Linked DNA regions of Homo sapiens: region 1 is linked to region 2. The links are contacts of gene promoters, found by promoter capture Hi-C in human tissues and cell types (Jung and others, 2019). All regions are on one chromosome and are shown on one strand. The core of a region is centred on a gene start or on the middle of the fragment in contact, and the rest is flanking DNA. Distances in the headings are between cores, read along the strand shown.

What was found. The method cuts DNA at HindIII sites, captures the fragments that hold promoters and counts their contacts. A contact is called where the count stands out against the background at its distance.
Region 1: a contact is called between a fragment that was not itself captured here and the fragment with the promoter of PGBD5 in region 2, in 1 of the 25 tissues and cell types used here (hippocampus).

What each region holds. Positions count from the first base shown.
Region 1 is chr1:230,389,666-230,394,021 of GRCh38, forward strand. The region is part of intron 1 of PGBD5 (piggyBac transposable element derived 5); the gene reads right to left. Among named protein-coding and RNA genes, the nearest start is that of PGBD5, 34 kb to the right of the region's middle. The HindIII fragment of the contact is 5,528 bases long and covers 1-4,356 here.
Region 2 is chr1:230,424,826-230,429,140 of GRCh38, forward strand. PGBD5 (piggyBac transposable element derived 5) reads right to left here and starts at 1,507. Exons shown (of 7, transcript NM_001258311.2): 1 at 773-1,507. The coding sequence starts at 1,103. RefSeq lists a silencer at 1,454-1,773 and enhancers at 1,582-2,129, 2,130-2,676. The HindIII fragment of the contact is 8,713 bases long and covers 1-4,315 here.

The sequences.
Region 1 (4,356 bases), core at 1,267-3,766, 34 kb before region 2:
AGCTGTGGAAATGTTCAAGCCCGGAATAAGGTTGTATTAACCCCATAATATAAAAAGTAGGTTGAAAAATCCAATTAGTAAATGTTTCATTAAAATAGAGAAAGTTTAGCCTTATGCCAACTGGTCAACAGCAACTCAACTCATACACTATTTAGAATGTATAGGTGGTGTAGGATGTGGAAGAATGGAATGTTTGCAATGATTTGGGATGGGACCTGAGGACATCACCCTGTCCCAAAGTGACACTGCCTAGGGCAGAAAAGGTATCATCCTCACTCCCCTCCCTTTTATAAAGGAGGAAACGGAGGCCAAGAAGATAAGTGACTTGCCTGAATCACACAGCCAGAAGGTGGGAGGGTGAGAAAAGAGAACACAGCTCTGGAGTTAGAGGCTGCCAGTCAGATTGGGATAGGACCCAAAATGTACCAATCATCAGGCGAGGCTGCTTTGTGACATGGCGGGACACAGCAGAGAGTGGGGAACCCTGCAACCAGAAGAACTCAATACCCCTCGCTCTGCCCACCATAAGTGGGTGACCACTGCTTCTTTACTGCTGCCAATCCAGTTCCATGGTGAGCCTCTATCTTCCAGGTGAAAGGGACCCAGATGCTCTCTCACCCACCCATGCCTTTGGGTCTACACAGCCTTCCATCAGAGCTGGTTTCAGCTTCCTCACACCCTCCTTAGAATCACCAGCAGAAGCCCAAACCCCATTCTTGGCTCCTCCCAACCCCTCTCACCTCACCTGAACATCTCACCCCTCTTCTGGGGTGCATCCTCTCTGGCTGCAGCAAACCAAATCAGCCTACATTTGTTTGACAATAGTTGTGTTACTGGTGGGCTTTCAAAGGGTGAGGGCAAACTCAAGTCTAAGGTCGGGCATCTCACCCAGAGGGTGGAGGTGGTATCAGAATCACATGTAGCATCTCCAAGCCCTGCCGCCCATCCCTACCTGCCCACTCCAGGGAGCCTGGGTTGCTCCTGCAGCTCAGAATCATGGGGCCAGGGAAGGCTTCCTGGGACATCTCAAGAAGCCCACTTGTTGGGTGTGTGTTTTAGCAGAGGCTCATTGCCAGTTTTTTTTGTTTGTTTGTTTTTGAGATGGAGTCTCAAAAAAAGGCTGGAGTGCAGTAGTGTGATCTTGGCTCACTGCAACCTCTGTCTCCTGGGTTCAAGCGATTCTCATGTCTCAGCCTCCCGAATAGCTAGGATTACAGGAACGCACCACCACAGCCAGCTAATTTTTGTATTTTTAGTAGAGACAGGGTTTCATCATGTTGGTCAGGCTGGTCTCAAACTCCTGAGCTCAAGTGATCTGCCTGCCTTGGCCTCCCAAAGTACTGGGATTACAGTCATGAGCTACCACGCCCAGCCTCATTGCCAGTTTTTATCCACCTCCATTTCATAGTGACTAGTCATAGCGACTGAGCTCAGTCCATCAGGAAAGCACCAGGGCATGTCACCGAGGCAGGACAGTTTGCCTGAGTGTGGGGGGTGGGGCGGGAGGGAGCTGCTACCAGCCTGTCGCTGTGGCTGACATCTGGAACAAAGCAGATGGGGACTTCATGGTAACATCTCCGAGGGCCTGAGACATAGTCCCAACTCACCCTCCTTTTAGTCATCAAAACATTTAGGAAAGATTCAGAAATTGCGCATGGGATTACAGTTTAGCAATTTTCCGATTTTGCCCCCTCATTTTCTCCCCTAGGAAAAAATATGAGTTTGCTGTCTCCTTCCCTGCAGGGATGTAATAGAGGTTTTACGGATAGAGAATTTCTCAAATTGCATCATTACAAAATGGTATATGCTAAGGTGTACCTTATGTGTGAAATTTCCCGGAATCAGGGAAAAGTATAACACACAAAGCAAACGTCAAATCAGACCCTTTCTCCTCACCCCTCTCCCTCCTCCTCACACCTTAAGACCTCAGTGACAAGCTTTTGCCTCCTGCAGTAAAACAATTTCCAAGACCAAACTGTGAGGTACCAAGGAGAGAGAGACCTGTATTTGGCCATCCATAAAACACAGCTCCTACTGTATTTTGGTGCACTTAGGAGGATATGCTATTTCCAGAAAAATAAACCTCTTCCTCACCATTTCTAGTAGCCAATAAATAGCAGAGACTTTATAATTATTAAGCAGCCCCAAACACCTGGCACTGATCTTCGTTAAATTCAATAAAAAACGAGCCCCATGCTGCATTTCTTTCTTCCATGCTCAGCAGTGGCCCGAGCCTACGCCAGAGAACGGGGCCAAGCTGCCCTTCTCCCCCAAAGGGAGCCCGACACAGGAGTCCTGCTGGGCGTTTGCTCATTTTAATGATGCGGTTAGAAAGGAACAGAAGATGAAATGAACTTTTCATAGGAAAAGGCTGGACCGAGGCTTACTAGGACTGTGAAGCTTCACTACCAGATCTCCAAACGAAAATCCTACTTGCTTTGATTTTTTTCTCTTAAGAGTGCCTTGGTCATGTGTCATGGGGCTGATCCCCAGCTGCCACCAGCTTCAGATAACCTCAGTGCTTCCTGGCCACATCCCCCCACACCGGGGCTGCCCTGAGAGGCATGGGGAAAGTCACGGGTCCTTTGGGGATAAGCACTGACCCACGGCCCTGGAGGGGCATCCCTCCAGGATAAGAGGATGCCTGTGCCCCACGTACCCCTGCGTCTCCCCTCCTTCTATCCCATTGGGTGAGAATCAAGCTGGGGAAGGCCAGAGCCCGAGGCCCGGCTGATGAGCCCCAGGCTTTGATGACAGGCCTGCTTGACAGGAAGCCTTCAGATGTCAGTTCATTCCAGGCAGATCTTCTCCCCCTCCAAAGCTGAGTTATAAAGCACCCGAGCTTTGTTATTTTATCTCCGGCTCGCAGGAGCCCTGGGAGGGCAGCTGCTTTGGAACTTTGAGGCTGCTCAGCCCCTGCCTCCTCCGGACTCTCCTCCTTCCGGGGCTCCTTGCAAGCGTGTCCTTCACCAGAGGACTGTCAGGACTTCCCACCACCAAAACCTGTGCTCCACACCCGCTCCTCAGCAGCGGCCTGCTCTCACCCAAGGAAATCCCCCGTGCGGCCCTGAGGTCCACCTCACAATGGAGATACAAGCCCCACAGTGCTTGGCTCTCCGGCCTGGGAAGCTGGAGGGGCTGAGCTAGAAAAGTTCAGCCCAGCAGCATGAAGGCAGGCCTGGCTGACAGCACACTAGACCCCGTGGGGTTCAGCCCCAGAGCCTGGAGCAGCAGGAGCAGACAGCTCTCCAACCCCAGCTGCAAGAGAAGAGGAACTGGAGGGAGAGGCACAGGAAGGGGAGGAGGAGGAAAAGGGAGAGCAGTGGTGGGCGGGGGAGCAAATCAGGGAAAAGGAAAGGGGGAGAGGGAGAAAGGAAGGAAAAGAGGAGAGGGATAGGAAGGGGAAGGCGGAGGAGGAAGAGGAAGGAGGAAAGGGGAAAAAGAAGGGGAAGGGGAAAAAAGAAGGGTAGGGGAGGAAGAAGAGGAGGAAGGAAAAAGGGAAGAGAAGGGGAAGGGAGGGGGGGAGGAGGGAGGAGGCAGGGAAGCCAAGGGAAAGGAGGAGAGGAGGAGGAAGGAAGGGAGAAGAGCAGGGAAAAGGGGGAGGAGGAGGGAGGAAAAAGCGAAGAGAAGAGAAAGGGGAGGGGGAGGGGCGTGCTGTGCTCAGGGCCAGTGCAGCCACTGAACACAGGAGACCACTGGCGGGGATGCGAGGAGGAGGAGAGCAGGCGGACTCTAGGAGGCTCACCCTAGGACACTTCACCATCCCACCTTTAAGGAGGTGACTCACAGATTCTCACAGGACACGGGAGGGTCTCTGCTGCCAGAGGCTTCCACCCAATCTTAGCGCCTGCTTTAAGAGCCTCAGAAGGAGCTCAGAAAAGAAAATAATAGGCCGGGCGCGGTGGCTCACGCCTGTAATCCCAGCACTTTGGGAGGCAGAGGCAGGCGGATTATGAGGTCAGGAGATCGAGACCACGGTGAAACCCCGTCTCTACTAAAAATACAAAAAATTAGCCGGGCGCAGTGGCGGGCGCCTGTAGTCCCAGCTACTCGGGAGGCTGAGGCAGGAGAATGGCGTGAACCCGGGAAGCGGAGCTTGCAGTGAGCGGAGATCGCGCCACAGCACTCCCGCCTGGGCGACAGAACGAGACTCCGTCTCAAAAAAAAAAAAAAAAAAAATAATAGGCCCGGGGCCCGCCAGTCCACAGCCTGATTAGAAACATGTGGCTTCGCAAGGCTCTCCCTCACTGGCTCCCCGCCCTAGAGTCCGCCACACCTGCCCCGGCCTGGCATCCTCTGCAGGCTTCCAGCTCTCCCACTCTTCTGGCTCATTCCGCCCCTGACTGGGCTACAAAT
Region 2 (4,315 bases), core at 257-2,756:
CAGCCAACTCCCACAAAAACAGACAGTGAAGAGGAGTGGGGCAGCCGCAGCTGCCAGCACCCTAGCCACCTTCTCCAGGTATTCGGGGCTTGTCTGTGGCCACAGTGGTAAGCAGGACACACCTGAAAGTACCTTCTGGCGGAAAAGCAAGCACCTTAACGCTGCCCAATCGGTCCCTTCCTTCACTCCTCCCCATTCTTAACAAGAGATCTGGAATGGCGCGGACAGGGAAAGTTTCTCAGATTAAGGAGAAAACTAAGCCAAGTCAAGACGCCGCGGGTGGCCTCTCTCTCAACTCTCACTGGGCCAACTCCTACCTGCCTCGCCCGCGTCACCTGCTGTAAGGCTTGCTCTTGGGCTGTCAGTGAAAAAACGACTCCCCCTGCCTCCACCAGCCACGCCGGGCTTTCAGAAAAGCCCCCTCAACTAGGAAAGCCTAACTTCAATCCACCCCTAAAAGTCCGACCCACAGGTGTGACAGACTTCCCATGCAGGGGCTGGGGTGCTCCCAGGAAGTGAAGGAAAAGGTCCCCGACGACATTGTCACTGGAAAAGTGCTGGCCACGGCCTCCGCCTTACCCTCTCCACCCACGGGTTCGGAGCCCCCAGGAGCAGTCAGACCGATCACCGCTCCTGCAGCCTCATTTGTTTCCGGAGAGACACCCACAAGCCAGCCCACGGAGAGTCTGGACTCGCCCGCCCCAGCACCCACGCCTCCCCCGCGCCCGGTTCCAGCGCCGCCCCCGACATCCACCCGCGGGCAGCCCCTTACCGCCGGTATCCTCGAAGCGCGGGGGCGGGCGGTCCCGCAGCGCTGCGCTCCAGCCCGCGCCGGCCTCGTCCTCCTCCGGCTCCTGTGCGTCCGGGGCGCGGGGCGGTGGCGGGGCGGCCCCTGGGGGTCCCGGGGGCTCGCGCTCGTCGTCCGAGGAGGCGGCCGAGGAGGAGCGCGAGGCGGCCGAGGTGCTGTAGAAGGGGTTCCCGCCGCTGTCCGGGCCGGACTCGCCGAACACGTCGTCCGAGATGTGCAGGCTCTCGTAGCGCGCGCGGGCAGCCTCGAGCAGCGCCGGCGCCCTCCTCCGCGCGCCCCCGCCGCCCTCGGCCATGGCCCCGGCCGCCGCCCGCGCGCCCGCCCCCACAGTGCCTCCCAGCCGCACACGCCGGGCCCTGGGCCCGCGCCGCGGCCCGCCGCCCCCCACCAGCGCAGCCCGCAGCACAGCGCCCGCCGCCCCGTGCCCGGCCGGCCCGCCGTCTTGGCCGCCTCGGGCCCAGCGCCCGGGGAAGCGCCCTCGGAGCTCGGGCGCCGCAGGCTGCGGGCCGCGGCGGGAGGCGAGCCGCGCGCGGGGCTGGCAGGGGCGACCCAGAGCGGGCGGGACGCAGAGGCTGCGGCCGAGACCAGGCGCCGCCGCCGCCACCGCCGCCACCACCGCCACCACCGCCGCCGCTGCGTCTCCTCGGCGCCCGCCGCCTCCCTGCCCGCCCTCTCCACGGCCTCCGGCGCTCGGCTGCCGACCTTCCCGGGCGCGAGCCGCCAGAGGCGGGCCCTGCCGCCCCTCACCTCCCGCCCGCCGGCCAATGGGGAGCCCGGCCCGGACAGCCGCGGGGGAGCTGGGCGGGCCCGGCGCGGGGAACGCCCCCACCCTCCTCCGCGGGGCGGGGCGGGGCGCGCGGCCGGGGCTGGCGGTTAGGGGGAGGGCCGCCGGCGGCAGTGCCGGTCTCCTCCTACAGGGACGCGCAGCCCGGGACCGCCACGCGCAGCGCGGGAGGGGGAGGGCGGGACCGGGGAACAGGAGGGGAGGGGGACCCGGGTGCTTCCAGCGGTCCGGGCCCGCGGACGGAGTGCGGGCCGATCCCGCTCACTGTCCCCTTCCGCAGTCCGCGTGCAGCTCCAGGGAGCTGTCCGCCCCGGTGGTTCTGAACCAGGCGCCGCCGAAACGCTCCAGGTAGGCGGCGGGCCCGAGGTCACCACACCCGCGGCGGCGGCTGCTGCCGAGGTTTCCTGGGGGTCACTGCCAGCTGCGCCGCATGCTCCCATAAATACAGGGGCTGTCCAGCTTCTGGGAATCTCGCTCTAATTAGGAGCCCGCCTCGCCGGTCCACTGTTGGTCGCTGGTCAGATGCTAACTCCGTCTCGCTTCAGTATCCCTGTAATTTAAGGGTGCCAGCACTGGAGTTAAGTAGCTAGTCATTCCTCATCATCGTTGACGTGTGGCATCTTTTGAACTCAAAATATCCATTACTTCCAAATACTAATTACTCTCACACCTCTATTTTAATATCTCCTTCACACACACACTTGAAACACTCATGTACTGAAATATTGCATGATCACCCAGGCTTCAGTGCTCTCATAAACAATAGCACAGAAAGGTTGCATCCGCCCCTCTTCCTTGGGCAGGAATGTGTGGTGGTCATCCTGTTGATGGCGATACGCGTAACGGAGACTGCCTTGTCTTCTTGCTCCCCTCCTCCTCCTTCGAATAATGCAATAAGTCACACTAATGGTAAATGGGCCATAAAGTCACTTTCACTCTGAAATAAAATAAATCCTCAGAGATGTGAAGGGCTTACAAATCCTACTGAGCATTAACTAAATTGTAGTTACATGAAACAGAAAGGCATGTTGCGATTTCTACGAATGCATAAAGGATGAAGGACCATTTTGCCGCCAAGTGGGGTCACTTCTAGTGTCGAGCAGGAACCTTCACTCATGCCCTCCCCTCCCCAGCCCCTGTGGTTCCTCCTTCCACATCAGGGGCTCTGCACAGGCATAGGTTCATGATCATCACTAACAGACAATATATAAAAAGGAAAAGATTCATGGAACTTTCCTTGCTATGTGGATTGGCTGAAAAATGAGGAAGTGCTTGCAAAGCATTTTTACTCTCTTGGAAGAATTATGCCACGGAAAATATCTGGTTTCCAACATACCTATATACTGTGCTAACCAGCTGAAAGTTGTTGAAGAGAGTACAGGTAATCTGACTTATCAAAAAGGGTGATAGTAAAGCATAGGTTGAAGATGCAAGAAGAAGAGTAAGACTCCATAGCTCAAGTTCAAATTCTGCAATTAGGAATTGTGTGAGGCTCCTGCAAGATTTCATGTTATCTATTTTAAATAGTTGAATGGAAAAAATAATTGAATGGGATTCAGAGAGTTAAAATCTGTAGGAAAGAGTTCCTTCTTTTCTTCTCCAGCTAGCCAATGAAAAAGTCAACAGCTAAGGTACGTGTTTTAAAAACGATGAATTGCTTTGCTACCCATAAGGAACCAAGGAACAAAACAACAGCAGTGGCAAGGATGGACAGAGTCTTCCGGTGTCCCTAATTTGCATTTGTATGGTGCTAATTCCCAGGAAACCTTGGGGCCTTGTGCTTCCTAGGCTCACAAATGCTTGTAGCTCACACCACATGCAACACTGAGGAGAGGATTATATGGACACAAAAGAAACACTGAGAAGTCAAATTGTTACTTCAAAGCTTGTCCAATAAAAATTAGATGAATATTTCAACTTAGAGTGAAGTATTTTATAGCACTTACATTTGTTTAAGCCAGTTTCCAAACAAGAAAAGTAAAAACATTCCAACCTTTGAAAACAGATGACTGCTTCTCACTGTGGTAAGAGAAGGAGTGAGGGGACAAAACAATTGCAAAACAAAAGCTTTCTCCTCTGGCTGGCATCCTCCTATTTGATAATGACGATTATGATTCTACATCATTAACTTTTATTAGTAACATCATTTCTGAGAGTAATTATAGAATATATATCACACTGAGATCTTTTAACTTTGAGTCATTTGAAAACATCTTCCAAATAATTTAATTATAAAATATAATTAAATAATTTTAGATTAATATTGAGCTTTTGGTTTTATGGTTTTCCCAAACAGCTCAAGGTAGTAAAAAGCAATTCATTTGTGTAGTAGATTCCTTAGGTTTTGTTAAACCAATGGTTCATGCTTTTATGTAACTAGGGCTAAGCACCATATTTCATTAAGTCTAAACCTCCTTTCATGGTACAGTGAACCATTGTTTTATGTATCACTAAAAAAGAAAAAAGTGCTGCCATAGGAAACTATGATACAATGGTTCCTTTTCTGTTCTAATTATAATTTAAACTTATTGAAAAAGCTATTTGATCATAATTTTTGGACAGATTTTTATTACGTATCACTCTATTGCATGCATACAGATAAAATATAAATTAATTGATTAAAGTTTTCCGAATTTCACATTCAGAATCTCACTATCCTTGTTTACTTTCTAACTCAGAGCTGTCAATGCCCAGGTTTTCTCCAGAATATGCTCCTCCAAGTC